4 separate regions of the Homo sapiens genome follow, and all the other regions are linked to region 1. Evidence: promoter capture Hi-C in human tissues and cell types (Jung and others, 2019). All regions are on one chromosome and are shown on one strand. Each heading gives the region's core, a stretch centred on a gene start or on the middle of the fragment in contact. The rest is flanking DNA. Distances are from core to core; before and after follow the strand shown.

What was found. Contacts are between HindIII fragments. The study calls those that stand out against the background at their distance.
Region 2: a contact is called between a fragment that was not itself captured here and the fragment with the promoter of OR6B2 in region 1, in 1 of the 25 tissues and cell types used here (mesendoderm cells).
Region 3: a fragment that was not itself captured here is called in contact with the fragment with the promoter of OR6B2 in region 1 in 1 of the 25 tissues and cell types used here (dorsolateral prefrontal cortex).
Region 4: a contact is called between a fragment that was not itself captured here and the fragment with the promoter of OR6B2 in region 1, in 1 of the 25 tissues and cell types used here (dorsolateral prefrontal cortex).

What each region holds. Positions count from the first base shown.
Region 1 is chr2:240,029,158-240,031,857 of GRCh38, reverse strand. OR6B2 (olfactory receptor family 6 subfamily B member 2) reads left to right here and starts at 1,429. Exons shown (of 1, transcript NM_001005853.1): 1 at 1,429-2,367. The coding sequence starts at 1,429. The coding sequence ends at 2,367. The HindIII fragment of the contact is 5,539 bases long and covers 1-2,352 here.
Region 2 is chr2:240,358,033-240,360,732 of GRCh38, reverse strand. No RefSeq gene overlaps it. Among named protein-coding and RNA genes, the nearest start is that of GPC1, 76 kb to the left of the region's middle. The HindIII fragment of the contact is 9,023 bases long and covers 1-2,700 here.
Region 3 is chr2:240,420,061-240,422,760 of GRCh38, reverse strand. No RefSeq gene overlaps it. Among named protein-coding and RNA genes, the nearest start is that of GPC1, 14 kb to the left of the region's middle. The HindIII fragment of the contact is 4,483 bases long and covers 1-2,700 here.
Region 4 is chr2:240,329,466-240,332,165 of GRCh38, reverse strand. No RefSeq gene overlaps it. Among named protein-coding and RNA genes, the nearest start is that of GPC1, 100 kb to the left of the region's middle. The HindIII fragment of the contact is 5,119 bases long and covers 1-2,700 here.

The DNA of each region.
Region 1 (2,700 bases), core at 180-2,679:
AATCAATCCGGTATTAACTAGCCAACTCACTAATGATCAGTTACCACTATCCAAATAATCAAGAGAAATCTATAGGTGCCTCTACTGTTCTGGGTTAAAAGCACAAGAACCAAAGCTCACTACCCCCACCGCCAGCTCTCCCCAGCAAACCCAGTCAACAGGTGGGGGCTGCTGGCCTTCCAAGGAGCTCCTGTGGACCCCAACTTTCCTCCTTGTGGACTTTAAAGCCCCCTGTGGCCACTCAGCTGGGAAGAGGACACAGTCACCACCCTGGATGGTGTCTAGAGAGGCTACATTCAGACTCACATCTTGAGACCCCTTTAATGGCAGGGGTTCTTATTGCTTTTGTTTTGGGGAGACAGTAGGCGGTGACTGGAGTGAGTAGTAAATGCTTGTGAAATTGATCCTAAACTCTGAACTGCACGCTGGCATTTTAAGGCAGGGAATGGCCATGCCGCCCCAGTGGATGATCTTGGGTTCCCACAGAATGCTCACCCTAGACGGCAGGAGTACAGGTGCGTTTCCAAGTGTAAACCTGTCCCTGGGCAATTCCCTTCTAGAAGTTTGTTTTTCAGCCTGCAACTCTTCCATGAACTCGACTTGTCTAGCCAACCCCCTACACGTCACCATGAGGCTCTCCAGTAAGTGCCGCGCACCACGCCTCCCCAGCACAGACTCCAGATTATTCGGCACCCACCTGGCCCTCTCCTAGTCTTCTCATCAATTTTTAGCATCCTGGGCCAGAAACCTGGGGTCACCCTCCCCAGCTGTGAGCTGGTGGAAGTCTGCCATTCAACCCACCTAGACTGCCAATGAAAAGAACCACCAGATGCCCTGTGGGGCAAGGGGCTGTGGCTACCCTCTCTCTCCCCCACCTGTGGACCAGGTCCCCCAGAGCCAGGCAGCCCTTTCCTGGGAGCCCTCCCTGCATTCCTCCGGCTGGTTAGCCCAGTTTGGGGTTCTGCCCTGGTAGGCTGATAGCCCCTCACCTCATGCCGAGGCTGCTGCCCCGACTTGCAGGAACCCTCAGATGAAGGACCCTAAGGAGGGCCAGCTCTGTGTCCATGCCCACTTGGATCTTGAGAGCTGCCCCAGGCACGTGTGGACTGGTAGTGCCCCTGGACTCAGAGCTTTGGGTTTTGCCCACCCTGGAGCTGCCCGGCTCTGTTCCTCAGCATATACTCTCTTCCTCATTCCTACTTCATGGTTATATGTAAATGCAAGCACACAGAAGTTTTCTACTTTAAAACTCAGAAGATCAGCAGATCACTGCTCTCTCCTGGTGCTCTGGGGAGCCACGTGGCCTCTCTTTGCACCAAAACTCCCCATCCAAGTCCAGCTCCACTCTCTCTCTGCCTCAGCTGCCCTGCAGCCCTTTCCTCTTGCTCTTTGATGTTTTGTAGGCCTGCAGCTCCCAAGCACAGAGGCATGAGTGGGGAGAATGTCACCAAGGTCAGCACCTTCATCCTGGTGGGCCTCCCCACGGCCCCAGGGCTGCAGTACCTGCTCTTCCTCCTCTTCCTGCTCACCTACCTCTTTGTCCTGGTGGAGAACCTGGCCATCATCCTCATCGTCTGGAGCAGCACCTCCCTCCACAGGCCCATGTACTACTTTCTGAGCTCCATGTCTTTCCTGGAGATCTGGTACGTGTCTGACATCACCCCCAAGATGCTGGAGGGCTTCCTCCTCCAGCAGAAACGCATCTCTTTCGTCGGGTGCATGACGCAGCTCTACTTCTTCAGCTCCCTGGTGTGCACCGAGTGTGTGCTTCTGGCCTCCATGGCCTACGACCGCTACGTGGCCATCTGCCACCCGCTGCGCTACCACGTCCTTGTGACCCCGGGGCTGTGCCTCCAGCTGGTGGGCTTCTCCTTTGTGAGTGGCTTCACCATCTCCATGATCAAGGTCTGTTTTATCTCCAGCGTCACGTTCTGTGGCTCCAACGTCTTGAACCACTTCTTCTGTGACATTTCCCCCATCCTCAAGCTGGCCTGCACGGACTTCTCCACTGCAGAGCTGGTGGATTTCATCCTGGCCTTCATCATCCTGGTGTTTCCGCTCCTGGCCACCATACTGTCATATTGGCACATCACCCTGGCTGTCCTGCGCATCCCCTCGGCCACCGGCTGCTGGAGAGCCTTCTCTACCTGCGCCTCTCACCTCACCGTGGTCACCGTCTTCTATACAGCCTTGCTTTTCATGTATGTCCGGCCCCAAGCCATTGATTCCCAGAGCTCCAACAAGCTCATCTCTGCCGTGTACACTGTTGTCACGCCAATAATTAACCCTTTGATTTACTGCCTGAGGAACAAGGAATTTAAGGACGCCTTGAAAAAGGCCTTGGGCTTGGGTCAAACTTCACACTAAGACAACTAAATGTCCTAGAGTAAAATCTGTAGTGATGAAACAACATTGTATGTGGCACTTTGTGCTCTTTAAATTAATTTTTAAGTTAAATTTAACAAACCTACAGAACTAAGTGAAATTTAACAAACCTACACAACTGTGCACAAGTAACAAGCCTTCGTCTGCATATGTTTTCACAAAAGGACTGTGCTCATGGAACCAGCTCCCAGATCAAGAACTAGAAGCTGCCTTCACGCCCTCTCCCAGTCATTAACCCTTCTCCACAAAAAGCACTGTCCTGACTTCCAAAACCAGATGCTAGCATTGGTGTTTCTGAGGGGCTTACACATAAAG
Region 2 (2,700 bases), core at 33-2,532, 330 kb before region 1:
CATTTTCCTGCTTCTTTACCTCCTTTATGCCAAACTCTCTGTATAAAGGAATTATAGAGACTCTAGATGGCATCATCTTTTGTGTTTTCCTGTGAGGGGAATAGGGTGAGAGGATTATCATATAAACCTAGCTGGGAATGGAGCTGAGTCCCAGTCAAGTGGTGTCTTTGATGAGACTCAGTCTGCCTCTGTCCTTCCCTGTTTCTTAAGCATGTCTCTCTGGGGTTTGACTGAGAGCCTGCTGGGTCCTCTCCTCATCCCTGAGATACTGTAAAGAGATTGAGATCTTTCCTTTGAGGGTTTGAGCCTAGGTCTTTAGTCTCAAGTTCTGGTGGCTTAGAAAAATCTGTCCAAAGTGGGGTGGTGGAGGATGCCAGCTCCTCCTGATGCTGCCTCATGCTATCTAGAGAGGATTCATCTCTAAGTAGCATGAAGTGGTTCACTGCCCCTTTTAGATACCCTTGGCCTAGGTCCCTGGACCTCACATACAGTTTCAGAAATCAATACGTGTTTAAGGGGGAACCAGCATTTCATCAGCCACTCTGTGGGCTACTACGTGCTTTCTAATCAGAATGTAAAAGAATGAGCAGCCCCATCCCTCTGCTCCTTGTGTGGTTGAGAAGCCTGTGAACACTCAGGGCCCTCAGCAGATGCCGAAGACCCCTGCCCAAGCCTTCTCCTGGAGGGGTGCTCCCAGCCTCTGATTGGGCTCCCGCTTGTCCTGTGTGACAGATCCAGGGCTCTCCATGGGACCCTTCATACCAGGTCTCAAGGGCACCCAGGCTCCTGGGACAGCCTGGAGTGTGTCAAAGGCAGGGGCAGCACTGCCCTGGAACCCACTTCACTGCAGGACCCCCAAACAGGGAGTGTGGCCCTGGCCACTCCAGGACTCCTCCTTGTTGCATCAGGGGCCCACATCCCTGTTCCCCTGTGCCAGGCCCAGAGGAGAGAGCAGGTGGACACCTCCTTGTCCCACCAGGGACCCACGTCCCTGTCCCCTCTGCCAGGCCCAGAGGGGAGGGCAGGGACACCTCCTTGTCCCATCAGGGACCCACCTCACTGTCCCCTCTGCCAGGCCCAGAGGGGAGGGCAGGGGACACCTCCTTGTCCCGCCAGGGACCCACGTCCCTGTCCCTTGTGCCAGGCCCGGAGGGGAGGGCAGGTGGCTGGTGGGTGTGAATTTCTCTGTTTCTGATCCTCAGTCCCCTGAGACCCACTGTCTTGAGCCTAGGGCTCTCCCTGCCCCACCCCACCCTTGGATTTGGTAATGAGAGAAAGATGGGTGGGGGTTGGTTTGAGGGGAGAGCAGGCACTGAGGCCCATCAACCAATCCAAGGGAGTCAGCCCTACCCTAGGGGTTCATCGCTGCTCAAGGAGGCTCAGCCCTGCCCTAGGGGTTCAGCTCCACCCTAAGGGGTCAGCCCTATCCAAGGGCGTCAGCCCTGCCTGAGGAAGCATCCCTCCATTGGGGGAACCAAAGAACTCTTGGGTGCCAGGATCTGGGCGCCACCCCTGCTCAGGGCCAGGGGGAGAGCCTCTCCCTTGAGGGTGAGGAGCAGGAGTGTCCCTGGGCTTGTCTGGGCCTGGTGGCATGAGGGCGGCATGCAGTGGGTGGGGTGTACTTCAGGTGATCCCCTTGTCGCTCATGAATCTGTCAGCCAAACCCCCACCCTCTCACCCTCCTACTGGGTGCACCACCAAGAGAACCAGGAAGAGGCGGCCGAGTGGCTGCTGGACTCTGCAGGGGTGTGGGTCGCTCCTGGTGCTGGGGCCGTTCACGACCCCATCCTACTCAGGGTGTGGTGTGGGGAGGGTCCCGGAGGGGCTGAGGAGGGGTCTGCATGCCCAGCAGGCAGCGGAGGCTTCTGAGGGTGAGCTGAGTAGGGAGTGAAGAGGCTGAGCTGCGTCAGTGGAGTCTCAGGAGAGCAGCAGCTGCCTGGAACCTTCCCGAGGGGTCGGGGGTCATTGCCCAGATCACACGCATTTCTCTTTCCCTAATGCCTAATGTGAGGTCCCCACAGCTCAAATCGATCCAACCAGCCACCACCCCAGAGGACCCCAGGACCACCTGTGGCCCTCTCCTCCAGCTCCTCCTCACCCTGCCCAAACCCGGTCCAGTCCCGTCTCCGTTCTCCTGCGCCAGCCCCAGATGACCCCGGCCCTCCTTGGGAGGCTTAGAAGGGCTTCCTAGAGACGTTGGCTGCTGAGTTATCCGGAGCTGAAGAAGTGGGTAAGGGTGTTCAGGACTAGGGAGGGACAGGGAGGCTCCGTCTAGGCAGGGCTGGAGCCTGGTGAGGAGGGGATGGCGAGGGATCCTCGTGGGAGCTCTGTGGGGGTGAAGCCAGCCCTGCTGAGGGGCCCAGCCCACCTCTCCGCCAGCTCCTCCCCTAGGTGCTTATCAGTGCCGGCCCCTTTGTGAGCCTGTGGGAGCTGGCTGGCAATTCAGGACCTTGAAGCCCCTGCAGGGTCCAGCCCCATGCTGGTTCCCCATGTCCTCCATGCTTCATGAAGCAGCAGGTGTGTTCCCTGCCTGGGCCTGGCCCCTGGGGCGCTGGAGAAGCTGCACACAGCTGGCAGAGAGGGGCCACTCGGAGAGGGGAGAGGGAGCAGCACCACAATACCCAGGAGACAGGGGTCAGAGGGCAGAGGCTACGGCCACCAGGCTGGCATGGTGTTCGAATATGGCTTTAATCTCAGGTT
Region 3 (2,700 bases), core at 87-2,586, 390 kb before region 1:
TTTTGAATAATGTAGTTTTGTAGGATGTACATTTCTTCTTATTCAAAATTTCTTGCTATTCTTTCCAGTGTCTCCCCCAGATGAACATTGGATTCATCCGTCAAGATCCATAAATAATGGATGAGAATTGTCTGGAGCTCATAGATTAGTTCTGGGAGAATTGATATTTTCTCAGACATCCAGGTATTCTAGGTATTTCAAATTCTCCCTTTATTCAATTTAAAAAATTGCTTTGCAGTAAAGTCTCACGTTTTTCATCATCTAGCCCTTTTTATATTTTGGGGTTTATTCTTAGTTGTTTTAAGGCTTTGTCTATTGTGAGCAGTATTTCTGAGCATACGTTTTCATTGGTAATTGCTGTGTTTAGGGAAGTCATTGGCTCCATTGATCTTTCAAGTCACAGCTTTGCTAAATTGTTTCCTTACTTCTAATACTTTTTCAGTTGGCTGCCTTCTGATTTCTAGGTAGACAATCATAGCATCTGAAAGTAGTGATGACTTAATCTTTTAATTTCCAGGTATTTATGCCTTTCATTTCTTTTTTTAATAAATGCATTACTATCCTTATTAGGATCTCTAGTATAATAGTAAAGATAAAATTGGTAATGATGAAAACACTCATGTTTTCTCCTGACCTTAAGACTAATGCTTTGAAAGTTTTATCATTAATTACAATATTGACTAAAGGCTTCTAGAACAAACTGTTATCAAGTTGGGGAAGTTGTTTCCTATTCTTTCCTTGCTACAAGGTTTCTTTTTAAAGTCCTAGTAGGGAAGGATATGGAATTTTTTCAACATCTGTTTCCATGATCGTATCATTTTCCTCAACTCAGTTCTTGGTGTAGTGAGTTATGCATCTAGAATTACTGCTATTAACCCATCCTTGCATTCCAGGACTAAACCCTACCTGCAATGGAAGCATTTGCAATGCCATCCTGGATGTGATTTGTTGAGGCTGGGCCCTAAGCCCTGTCTGTTTCCATGGTCTTGCAGGGCTCTCCTGCTGTGGGGGTCTCCTTGGGCTCAGAGCACTCCTGTGGCAGCAAGGCCAGAGCACAGGTGATGCTGTCTCTGCCTTGCACTGGCTGCTGTTCTGATGAGGCGTGAGCAGTGGCTTTCCTGGCCTGTGTGGCACGAGGACACTTGTCAGGCCTGGGTTGCCCTGGCCAGCTTCTCCTGGGGCTGCATGTCCCATGGCCTGGCATGGGCCCTGGGGAGCCAGGGCCTGCTCCATCCCCCCTCTGGGATCCTTGTAGCCTGCTCAGTGTCCCCGCATCAGTGTTGCTTGTGCTTGCTGACTGTGCCTTCCTGCCTGCTGGCCACACCTGTCCAGGGGGACCTGGAAATGGACAGGGGTGCTTCTGATGGGATTCTACACCCTTCATCTGCTTGGGGAGAAGGCACCCACACCCGTGAGTTATGTCATGAAAAGCATACTTGTAAAGCTGGCTTCCTCCCTGACCCTGGGGCATCCTGGTCTTGTGCATCCCAGTTGGGAGGAATCACCACTCTCTGCATCCAGGCCCAGCAGCTGCCTTCCAGGGTCCTGGGTGTTCCTCCTGCAATATCTCTTTAAAGTTGGTAATTTGGAAGATTGAGCTGGAAATGCACAAGTGAGTGCTGCCTGAGGGCTGGGGGTTTTGGGGTGGAGGCTGCCACCTCACATGAGGCCTGGATGCTAGTTTGGGCCTTTTGTGGGCCTAGTGTCCCTGGCAGGCCTCTGGCACCACTGCTGTGTTCCTGGGCAGATCCGCAGAATGGGACACTCTTGGAAGCAAAGACACCCATCCTCTAATTTTCTTATCCTTTCCGAAACCGAGCTAAACCCACTGCTCAAAATTGTCAACACGTGGCTTCCAGCCCTGGGGAACAGGATTGATGGCCTTGTCATTCCACATGGGCATGTGGCTGAGTGGCTACTGTGGGGGTGGTTCCCATCTGCAGAGGGCGTGGGGCCCTGTGAGGACCTGACTGTCCTTCCCTGTGGGCCGAGGAAGCCCCTAATGTCGGGGCACGCACACCAGAGGAACCGGAGGAGCCAGGCCATTTGTGCTGAGGGGATAGGATAGTGGGCAGCAGCCCCAGGACCCTGCCTGCCTATCCTGAGGGCCCAGACCAGATTCCCGGTCCCTCTGGGGTCCCACAGCCTAGGACTTGCCCACAACTCTGGTTTTGGGGCCGTTTGCTTGCCCAGGAGGTCGTCCTTCCATTCTTCATCCCTCAGCCCTCCCATTCTCCCGGGTACTCCCATAAGGCAAGCCTCGGGCCAAAGTATCAGCCGTGCCTTTCTAGGTCTTCTCCATGCCCCCAGCCCCCCACTCTGAAGTGGACCAGACCCTCCCAATGTGTGCCAAGGGTGCTGAGCCTTCGGGCACTGTGGGTGGTGTCTGCTTGCCTATGTCTGCCCCTGGCCCACTGAGGGGGTCAGGAAAGGGTCTTCTGGGTGCCTGAGCAGTGTGCAGTCTCTGAAACGGACTTGTGGGGTGGGGGCAGGGTTCAGTCCATGGCCCCCCCATCAAGCTTCCTTGGGACCAGGAGCCCCTTGCAGGCTGCCCGGCTCCTCTGCCACCAGCTGGGGCTTGGCCTGGCTATGGCTCTCAGATACTGGCCTTAATGGTCTGGGAGCTGGGGGTCTCCACGGGCCTCACTTGGCCATCTGTGGCCTGGGCCAGGCTGGCTCTAACTCCCTGCAGAGATTCTG
Region 4 (2,700 bases), core at 179-2,678, 300 kb before region 1:
CTTTTCTCTCCTGGGTTGTGTCCCACATATTTTCTTGTTCTGTTGGACTTTACTTCATTTTTCAAGAACACATCCTTAGCACAAGCGATCAAGGAAAAATACGTAAATTAGGCTTCATTATGATTAAAAACTTCTGTATGCTAAAGGACACTATTGAAAAAGTGAAAAGACAACCTATAGTAAGAGAAAATATTTGCAATCATATGTCTCTTAAGGACCTAGTCTCCAGAATATTGAAAGAACTCTCATAATTCTATAAGAAAAAGACACAGAAGCCGATTAAAGACTGGACAAAGGATTTGAATAGACATTTCTCCAAGGAAGACATATGAATGGCCAATAAGCACATGAAAAGATGTTCAATGTCATTAGTCATTAGGGAAATGCAAATTAATGGCAGGCTATAATTGAAGAAGGAAAACAACTGTTGGTGCAAAGATGTGGAGAAATGGGAACCCTCATCCATTGCTGCTGGGAATGCAACACGGTGCAGCCACTTTGGAAAACAGTCTGGTAGTTCCTAAAAACCTCAGACATGGAACTACCATATAACCCAGCAATTTCTTTCTTAGGAATATACCAGAGAGAACTGAAGACATATGTCCACATAAAAGCTTGTACGCAAATGTTTCTAGTAGCATTACTCTTAAGAGCCACGAAGGGAAAACAACCCAAATGTCCACCAGCAGATGAACAGAGAAAGGAATGAAGCACTGAATCATGCTACAACACGGACGAGCCCCCCAAAAAATTATGCTAAGTCAAAGAAGCCAGACACAAAGGGCCACAGATTTTATGATTCCATTTATTTGAAATATCCAGCATAGGCAAATCTATAGAGACAGAAAATAGGTTAGTGTTTGTCAGGGGATGGGTGGGGAGGAGGCATGGGGAGCACCTGTTGATGTGGAATTTTGTTTTAGGGTGATGAAAATGTTCTGGAGTTAGTGGTGACGATTGTACAATCTCATAAATAGCTACTGAACTGCACACTTTAAAATAGAGAATTTTATAGCATTCTATAAATTATATCAATAAAGAAAGAAGAAAAGATGAATAAGAAATCACATAACAATGTGTTCTTCCTTTATTGATGTAATTTATATAAATGCTGCTTTATATATAGCATAACTTTTACATATTTGTATTTTGATATAATATAAAAATTATGTATTAATATATTTACATCATCACATGATTTCTTATTCAAACAGTACCTGGGAAGAACACACTCTGAGACTTTGTGTATCTGAACATGTCTTCATTCTTTATTTACTTTCCCTTACTCATTGATTGATTGATTGATTGCTAGCTATGTAGGGCATGCCCCCTAGATATCTCCCTGGCTAATGCTTTCCTGGTGACTATCTCTTGGATTTTAATCACAAGTTGGTAGAACTTATGTCTTGAAATATATCAGTTTTTCAGTGGATGTTTGTGTGTACAGGAAAAAGTTACATCACTATTCTCAAAATGCAATTTGCAATTTTAAGTAAAACGATTGAATTACATTCCACATACAACAGGTAGAATGCCAGCACATTAGCAAAGGGTGTGGGACTTGGAGACAGCTGGTTCAGAAGCATCCCAGTCCATACAGCAGCCATGCGTGCACAGCCAGGCTGATTGTTCATGACTAGGATGGGCTGTCTATATTTTATACTCAAACATGATTCGTTACTAATATACAGAGGTTCCATCATGTTTTATCTCATTTTGGAAAAGTAGGGGGGGCAGTAAGATTGATATATAATACAGTATAATTATTCCTTTTAAAATAATAGAAAGTAGGTTCCCAGGTAGCATTTTCATGCAGAATGGCTGATTTGGGGGAATGGATTATTGATGCTACATGTGAGATGTCTGTTGTTTGGCTGGGTTAGAATTCTAGGTTCAAAACGATTTTCTGCAGGAAAATCACTCACACCTGGCAGGTGTTATTCCAGTGTCTTCTTGGGTCCAGGGTTGCTGCTGAGCCATTTGATGCCACTCCGGTTTTTGTTCTTGTTGAGTGGCCTCTTTATCCTCTCTGAGAGCTTTTAGAAGCTTTCCCTGGATGGCTTGCTGACCACCTGTGCCATATTTGAGTGTGCTCCCCTGGGCAGGCTGCTGACCCTCCCGCATCTCAGCTCCTCAGCTGTGAGCTGCAGGCGAGGATGACATGCTTCTCTCAGGTTGCTGTGAAGACAGACACGGGGCCATATTGGGGGCTGCCTGGCAGGTGCCACCTGGCCTTGGCCACTGTCAGTGTTCCCCTGCCTAGGTTCACGCTCCCATGACTTTGCCGGGCTCTTGATGCTGACCCCATCTGGCCTCCCTGGTGCTGGTCTGGGAGAACCATCACTAAGTCCTCCTCAAGAATCCCTGACTTCTTTAAAGCCCATATTGGTCCCTGCCCCAGGCTCTCAGGGTACTACCCATGCCCAAGGCTGGGCCTGCTGCCCGTGCCGTGCTGTAAACCAGGCCCCTGAAACAGCAACAGCAGCAGCTGCGGGAATTTTAGTGTACTCCAGTCTCCACGATCTATCCTGCTATCCCCACTGGAATCTCCTGTGAGGTCGGTGAACACAGGGTTGGGAAGAGGCCTGCATGTGTTGGCTCCAGGGCCAGGGGCTGCTGCCCCAGCTGCCAGCCCCTCCTCCACCCTCTGCGGCCCCTGCCCTGAGAAGCCCCAGCCTAAGCTGCCCACACCCGTGTGCC